2 separate regions of the Homo sapiens genome follow, and region 1 is linked to region 2. Evidence: promoter capture Hi-C in 16 types of primary human blood cells and fetal thymus (Javierre and others, 2016). All regions are on one chromosome and are shown on one strand. Each heading gives the region's core, a stretch centred on a gene start or on the middle of the fragment in contact. The rest is flanking DNA. Distances are from core to core; before and after follow the strand shown.

Evidence for each region. Contacts are between HindIII fragments. The CHiCAGO score rates a contact against its expected background, and 5 or more counts as called.
Region 1: a fragment that was not itself captured here is called in contact with the fragment with the promoter of REV3L in region 2 in 1 of 17 cell types (fetal thymus); the score reaches 7.4 in fetal thymus.

Annotation. Positions count from the first base shown.
Region 1 is chr6:113,968,371-113,971,545 of GRCh38, reverse strand. HDAC2 (histone deacetylase 2) reads left to right here and starts at 398. Exons shown (of 14, transcript NM_001527.4): 1 at 398-689. The coding sequence starts at 638. HDAC2-AS2 (HDAC2 and HS3ST5 antisense RNA 2) reads right to left here and starts at 1,845. Exons shown (of 10, transcript NR_125845.1): 1 at 1,268-1,845. RefSeq lists silencers at 1-67, 43-486, 428-727, 938-1,257 and an enhancer at 1-881. The HindIII fragment of the contact is 2,571 bases long and covers 218-2,788 here.
Region 2 is chr6:111,481,126-111,484,530 of GRCh38, reverse strand. REV3L (REV3 like, DNA directed polymerase zeta catalytic subunit) reads left to right here and starts at 1,313. Exons shown (of 32, transcript NM_001372078.1): 1 at 1,313-1,781. The coding sequence starts at 1,643. It also overlaps TRAF3IP2-AS1. RefSeq lists enhancers at 167-526, 2,367-2,426 and silencers at 597-986, 1,027-1,256, 1,427-1,726, 1,787-1,856, 1,917-1,996. The HindIII fragment of the contact is 6,397 bases long and covers 1-3,405 here.

The sequences.
Region 1 (3,175 bases), core at 254-2,753, 2.5 Mb before region 2:
CCCGCCGGGCTCGCGGCACGTGGTCGGCTTGGGCGGGAGCTTCGCGACAGTGGGGGAGGGGAGCAGCGTGGGACGCCGAGGAGGGGTCCAGACCGCCAAGGCTACGAGGCGCCGACTGCGCAGGCTCGGGGACAGGCGCAACCACTGCGCGCAGACCTGAGGGGGAGAACGTCCACCCGGCTGCACGCTCCCTGGATCTACTTGCGCAGCGAAAGCTTGTCTTCTTCCTCATTTTAACACTGTGTATGGCGCCGCCTTGCGCAGGTTGTTCACCCTAACAGGGCCTCTAACCTCGAGCCCGAAACGGCCTCCTTCTCCAGCCGTGCCCCTTCCTCCCCCGTGGAGGCCGCAGTGGATGCGCTCACCTCCCTGCGGCCTCCTGAGGTGGTTTGGTGGCCCCCTCCTCGCGAGTTGGTGCCGCTGCCACCTCCGATTCCGAGCTTTCGGCACCTCTGCCGGGTGGTACCGAGCCTTCCCGGCGCCCCCTCCTCTCCTCCCACCGGCCTGCCCTTCCCCGCGGGACTATCGCCCCCACGTTTCCCTCAGCCCTTTTCTCTCCCGGCCGAGCCGCGGCGGCAGCAGCAGCAGCAGCAGCAGCAGGAGGAGGAGCCCGGTGGCGGCGGTGGCCGGGGAGCCCATGGCGTACAGTCAAGGAGGCGGCAAAAAAAAAGTCTGCTACTACTACGACGGTGAGCGGCCGGGCCGGTGTCGGGGTGGGCGCGCGGGGCCGGGCGCTGGGTTCCGCGGCTGCCGTCGCGAGTGGGCGCCGGGGCTGAGGGGTGGGAAGGAGGAGGGACCGACATTTGGCCGCATCTTAACCCGTTCCCGGCCCGGCACAGTTAGAACGAGACCCTCTTCCTGGCGCAGCCCCCGCGGTTCCTGCGGGCGGGAATCAGGGGGCCCGCCCGTCTTGTCTCCTGCCTCTCCCCCTTCGGCCGTGCAGTCCGCAGCCTCGAAGGTGGCCGCCGCTGGGGACGGCGCCGGCCTACCCCGCCTTGGTGGTGGCGGCGGCGAAGGGGGCGGCCCATTCTCTCCCTTCTCCCGCCCACCATTCGTGGCAACGCAGGTTTGGGGTGCCCCGCGTCGGCCTCCTACCCCCTCGACCCGTCCCCCGCGAGGCAAAATTTCTATCCCGGCCTTGACTCTACACAAAGCCCCGCGGCCGCGAGAGCTCCGCCCCTCCCGTCCCCTTCCCTCCTCCTCGCCTGCTCGCCTCCCCTACCCTGCGTTCGGTCTGGCCGGAGCGTCTTCTCCTTCCTCGGCTTACCCTTTCCCCGGACCCCTCCTCCCGGTGGGCGCTGGAGAGTAGTTACTGAGGGTGGGGGCTCAGGTCGCGTGTGGCTTTATCACACCCATGTTTTGCGTGGGCTCCAACCCTCTCCTTTGTTCGCTGGGTTCTTTGAGCGCGTCTTTCTCAGGATTCAAATGGAAGGGCTTCACTTCCTCAATAATAGTTCGGGTTTTCCAGTTTCAGGCAGAAAGACTTCGTAGGAAATAAGAGGTGGTAGGGAGATGTGGAACTGCTACTGCTTGTGTTGTAGATCAGACTCCATGGGTCCTGGCTTGCCTCAGAGAGGTGGTTACCACCCACTTCTTTGTTGCTCTTTGTTCGATCAGGAAATAGACCCTGCTTTGGGGATTTAGAGAGCATTGGTATCTTGCAAAGGCTGTTCCTAGGTGGTGGGGAATCCTGGTATGGGAAAACTTTGAGAAGTGGGAGAAGTGCAGAAGTACTAAATATTCTAATGAGGTAAATTTGAGGTCACCGTGTAGTGAATTATAAAAGTCAGATAATTTAATTATCTTAAGCATTCTATAATTTGGAGTATGAGCAGTAACATTAAATCTTCGAATCCTGTTTCCTGTGTTTTCTTGCTCAATGGAGTAGTAACCTGTTATACAGATTTCACAAAGGCTTGGTAAATAGTTTATAGTAGGTTACTCTTGAGAGAAGGGATTCCAAAATTTAACAGAGAATCTATCCTAGGCTCCTTCTCCTGAAAGTCCTGTCTGATTTGTAGGAAGCAATACAAATTTTGGAAGCTGTTTCCTACATGTGGTGTATTGTAAATCACAAAATTTTAGAGAAGTAAGACCCCAGAGCACCAGCTCAGAATAAATCTACTTTAACTTGTAAATGACCGTACTGTCTCTTTTTAGTTAAAAAGGATTAATCTTTTAATGACTGATACATATAAAATAACCACCTGTGTCATTTGGGGAAAATCTGAAATCTTACAGAACAAATCTAAATTGATCTGCGATAGCTAGGACAGAATAATAACAGCCCTACTTTTAAAAATGATTTTTCAGAGGACTAGATATGCATTATATAAGTTGATTTGAAATTATGCCATCGTGGAGGGGTGGAGATGGAAATACATTTTAATTTCAACATGATTTACATTGCATATTTTGGGTTATTCTTGCCCTGCATTCCCTGATCAAATTGGAAAGGAAGTAACCCTGCGTATAAGTTAATTTGTAAAATTACATTGTTTCTAAAGTTTAGAGATTTATCCTTGTCAGGGCTTGGAGTAAAGAGGAAAATTTTGGTTAGGGAAAGTGGTACTGAGGTCCTTCTCGAAGCTGTCAGTTGGTGTTGGTAGTGATGGGCTCTGAGGAAGTAAGCTGCTTGTAATTTGTTGTCACCACAATGGAACCCTAGAACCAGGAGGGTACACTTGAGTAGCAGTTTCTGAACAGCGCTCTTGTCCTGGGCCCATTTATGATAACCTTCGTTGTGGGAATGGGAGCAGGCACGGGTACCCGGGAAAGGATGCAAGCTTGATAAGTAGGGTGGAAATATTTGTCTTGTGATTGTGACTTAATATGATACTTTATTGTAGCCCATTCACCTGCTTACGTGATGGCCAGCAACAAGTGAATAGCTGATAGTTTGGAAATCTCTGGTGGGTTATTTTGTCTTTTGTCTGTGACTCGTTTGTTAAAGTGGAGTTCCTAGTTGCTTATGTTTCACATACTCTTTTAATTTTTGTGGGAGGGAATTAAAATATTTTGCAGAGATTATTAATGTTTATATTATGCTAATTATTAATATGTGATAGTGTGCTGACCTCATCCAAAAACTTATATTTTTATTACCAGAGAACATTGTTTTGTCAGCTTACAAAAGTAGCAATACTAATTCTTTTTTTATTGTGAGAAGAGAATG
Region 2 (3,405 bases), core at 64-2,563:
ATTATTTGTCCAAGGTCACGCCCAATATCAGTGGCCAAGTCAGAGAGGAACCCCTTGTTTCCAATTTAATAGCCAAGCCAGCTGCATGTTACTACTCTTTAAAACAAAAATTCCCTAACTGCATCGCTTCACCCCCTCTCGATTTTTGAATAAAGTTGTTTATTCAAAACGGCCCTTCCCCACGGTGGTGCTTTTATGCCTTCGGGTAGTAAAACCTTCCATAACGTGTTAGTGAAAAACACGAGGAGGCCACGTCTAACGCGGTGACTTTCACAGGCCTTTTTCTTTGGCCAAAATTTTCTCGGAAAGACTGTTAATCCTACATTCCGCTGGGGGAGGAGCGACGAGGGAGGAGGGAGGTCACCGGCAGCTGACAAGTCCTTACATGTACTTGCGCGTGCCCGGGACGCAGCCTGCGGGGCCGAGGAAACCAACGAAGGATGTATTAGGACGAGAGGGAAGGAAGGGGGCGGGAGAAAAACACGGTAGTGGGAAATCCCTGTGCACTGGATCTGCCAACCCCTCGCAAAGCTGAGAAGAGCCGTGCGTGAATAAATCTCATTAAATGGCCCGGCGCAGACACTGCAGCAGCAAAGAGGAGGGGGCACCGCGGCTCGCGCGGCACGTTCGGGAAGGGGGAACGCCAGGGCGGCCCTTTTATAGGCCGAAGCCCGCGCCCGCGCGCCCCCACCCTTCGCACCGCCCCCGGGCCACGCGCGGAGCCGCGGCGTTACCTGAGAAGGGCCGGCTGCGTCCGCACCCGGCCCCGCCCGTTCCGCCGCCCGCCCGCCCTTCCCTCCCGCGAGGCCGCAGCGGCACGAGATCTGCGCCTCGCCTCCCTCCTCACGCGGGCGGATTTTCTTACCTTGTGAAAAACCGTCTCAGCGGCTGCCCCCGCCTCCTCTGCTGGATGTGAAATGGCGGTCGGCGAGGCAAGTGTGAGCATCGCAGCTCCTGCCAATCCTGCATAGCCGCCAAAACGGCCCCGAACACTGGCGCCCCCCTCCCGCAAGCCCCTCGGAGCCCATCCATGAGATCGGTGCTCCGCCGCCCCTTCCGCTGCCCCTCACCCAGGTGACCGTGCCCGCCAGCCGAGTCATCGATCCCGCGCGGGCGCTGCCGGCCGCCGGCCGCCTCCCTCGCCGCGTGCCCGGGGAGGGGGAGAAAGCCCCTTCTCGGCCCCCGCCCTCCGTGTCCCGCCCGGGCGCCCGCCCTCTCGCTCCTTTTCCCGCCGAGCCCCCTCCCCCGCACTACTCGCAGCCTCCCTTCGCCACACACACCCCCCTCTCCCCTCCCCCCAGTGGTTGCGTCCGTGACATCATCATCATGGCAACAAGAGCTGCAGCCTGGGACCGAGGAGCCCGTGTGATTCCCGGCGGTGGCGGCAGTGGCGGCAGCACCAGCACCGACGAAAGCTCGAGGGCTTCTCTCCTGCGGCCCCTTGCCGGGTGCTCCTGAGGAGGCGGCGGCAGCAGCGCCTACACCGCCCCGCCCGCCGCTCCTCGAGGTGCCTCTGTGTGAGGGGAGGGGGCCGTGCCGAGAAGGGGAGGGGGCGCCGCCGCCGCTGCGGAGGGAGCCGCCGCCGCTGCTGCTGCCGCTGCCGGGTCGCCAGTGAAGGGAGGCAGTGGCGGCGGCGGCGAACATGTTTTCAGTAAGGATAGTGACTGCAGACTACTACATGGCCAGCCCGCTGCAGGGGCTGGATACCTGCCAATCCCCCCTCACCCAGGCCCCTGTCAAGAAGGTGCCGGTGGTGCGAGTCTTCGGAGCGACCCCGGCAGGTAAGCGGGCGCCGGGCGCGGGGCGGGAGCGGGAGTCGGCGGGGCGCCGGGGCCGCCCTCCCCGCCGCGCACACGCGCACACGCCACCGGCGCCGGCCGTCTCCGTGGATCGCTGCCGCGTCTTCCCTCCCCTCCGCCCTCCTCGCCTTTTCTCTCGTGCGTGACAAGAGCCGCAAAAATGTGGGTCCGCGCGAGCGCTGCGCGGCGCCCCCACCCCCGGGCAGGGAGGTGGCGAGCGCCGCGTGTTTAGACTGCGTGTGGCGGCCGGGAGCGGGAGCCGCACTCCAGGGCGCGGGCCGGGAGAGCGAAAGCCGCGGGCGCCCCGGACGGCGGGCCAGGTGGCCGCGCCATGTCCATCGGTGGACGGGTTCGTAGGGCCTGCTCTGAGGTCGGTCGCTAGTGGGACATCCCTTGTGTCCCCCAAGTGCCGCTTTCTGGAAACGGGGAAGTGTCAGCCTTGTTGTCAGTCGCTCCCCATGGTCTCTTCTCACCCTCGCTCTCCTCTGCCAGTTCCGGAGATGCAGTGGGCCGGAGAGAGTGGCGCTTGGGGCCAGATAATCTTTCTCACTGGGGTGACCGTGTGGCTCTGCTGTGAGTGCAGGTCGTGACTCCTTAGAGTTTAGTGCCTGAGCGTCGGGGGACAGGGCAGCATCCTTAGGTGCAGTGCTTTCAGGAAATGTGCATCCATGGAAGTAGGAAATGCGTGTTTATGTTGCCCAACCTAAAACATCACACTTAATGGGGTGAATTTATTAGGAACCACAGCCAGACTCAGCAGCACAGACATTTTGAAATGCTCCTAGGCTGGGCTGTAGGATTGCGTTTTAAGTACAGGTATATATTTTTTAAACACAACTATGTTGAAGAAGGGATGGGAAGGGGAGACAGCCGTGACAGAAGGTACGTTCTCAAAAACTCCTGGGGCTTATGATAATATAAAAAAGATAGAGGCCCAGTTTACTAGGTGTTTTAAAATGGTTTTGCTTTTTTGCATGCTTTGAACTGCTTCCATGAAATAATGGAGTTCTAGGAAATAATGCATCTTAGGAAAGGTTGTTCTTCCCTCTAGCTATGAATTGCCCTATGGGATTTTAGATAGCATTTCCCACTTGATGCTCCTTGCCCTCATCACCATTCATCTTATTACTACAGTCAGTTTCTGTGGACTACCAAGATAATAGCGCTTTCCCAAACACAAGCACTCATTTTAAAGCAGTTATCTTTTAATGTGAATTCTCTTTGTTAAAATGTCAATGTTGTGAGATTTGGTAGCATATTCCTATTTAAACTAGTGAATATGATTTTGATATGAACCTTGAAAGATGGGGAATTTGAGTGCTTTTAACGTGTTGAAAGTGTAACACTTGAAACTTTGGAGGCTGGGAAATCGAGGCGATGAAGTGTTCTATAAGATAGGTTTTCTGCCCTTTTAAATATAGTGGTGCTGTCTTTGTTTCCAATTGGAATTTCAGTGTAATGCACTGTTCTCACTTCAGATGCAGAGGAAGGATAAAATAGTGAAGTTGATATGGCCCTGTTCAGCCAAATTTCCGAATCATAAAGTGACATGCTAATAGGATATACTGTGGCATTTCTGTGTATTACAGCTTGTATGGTTTGAGTT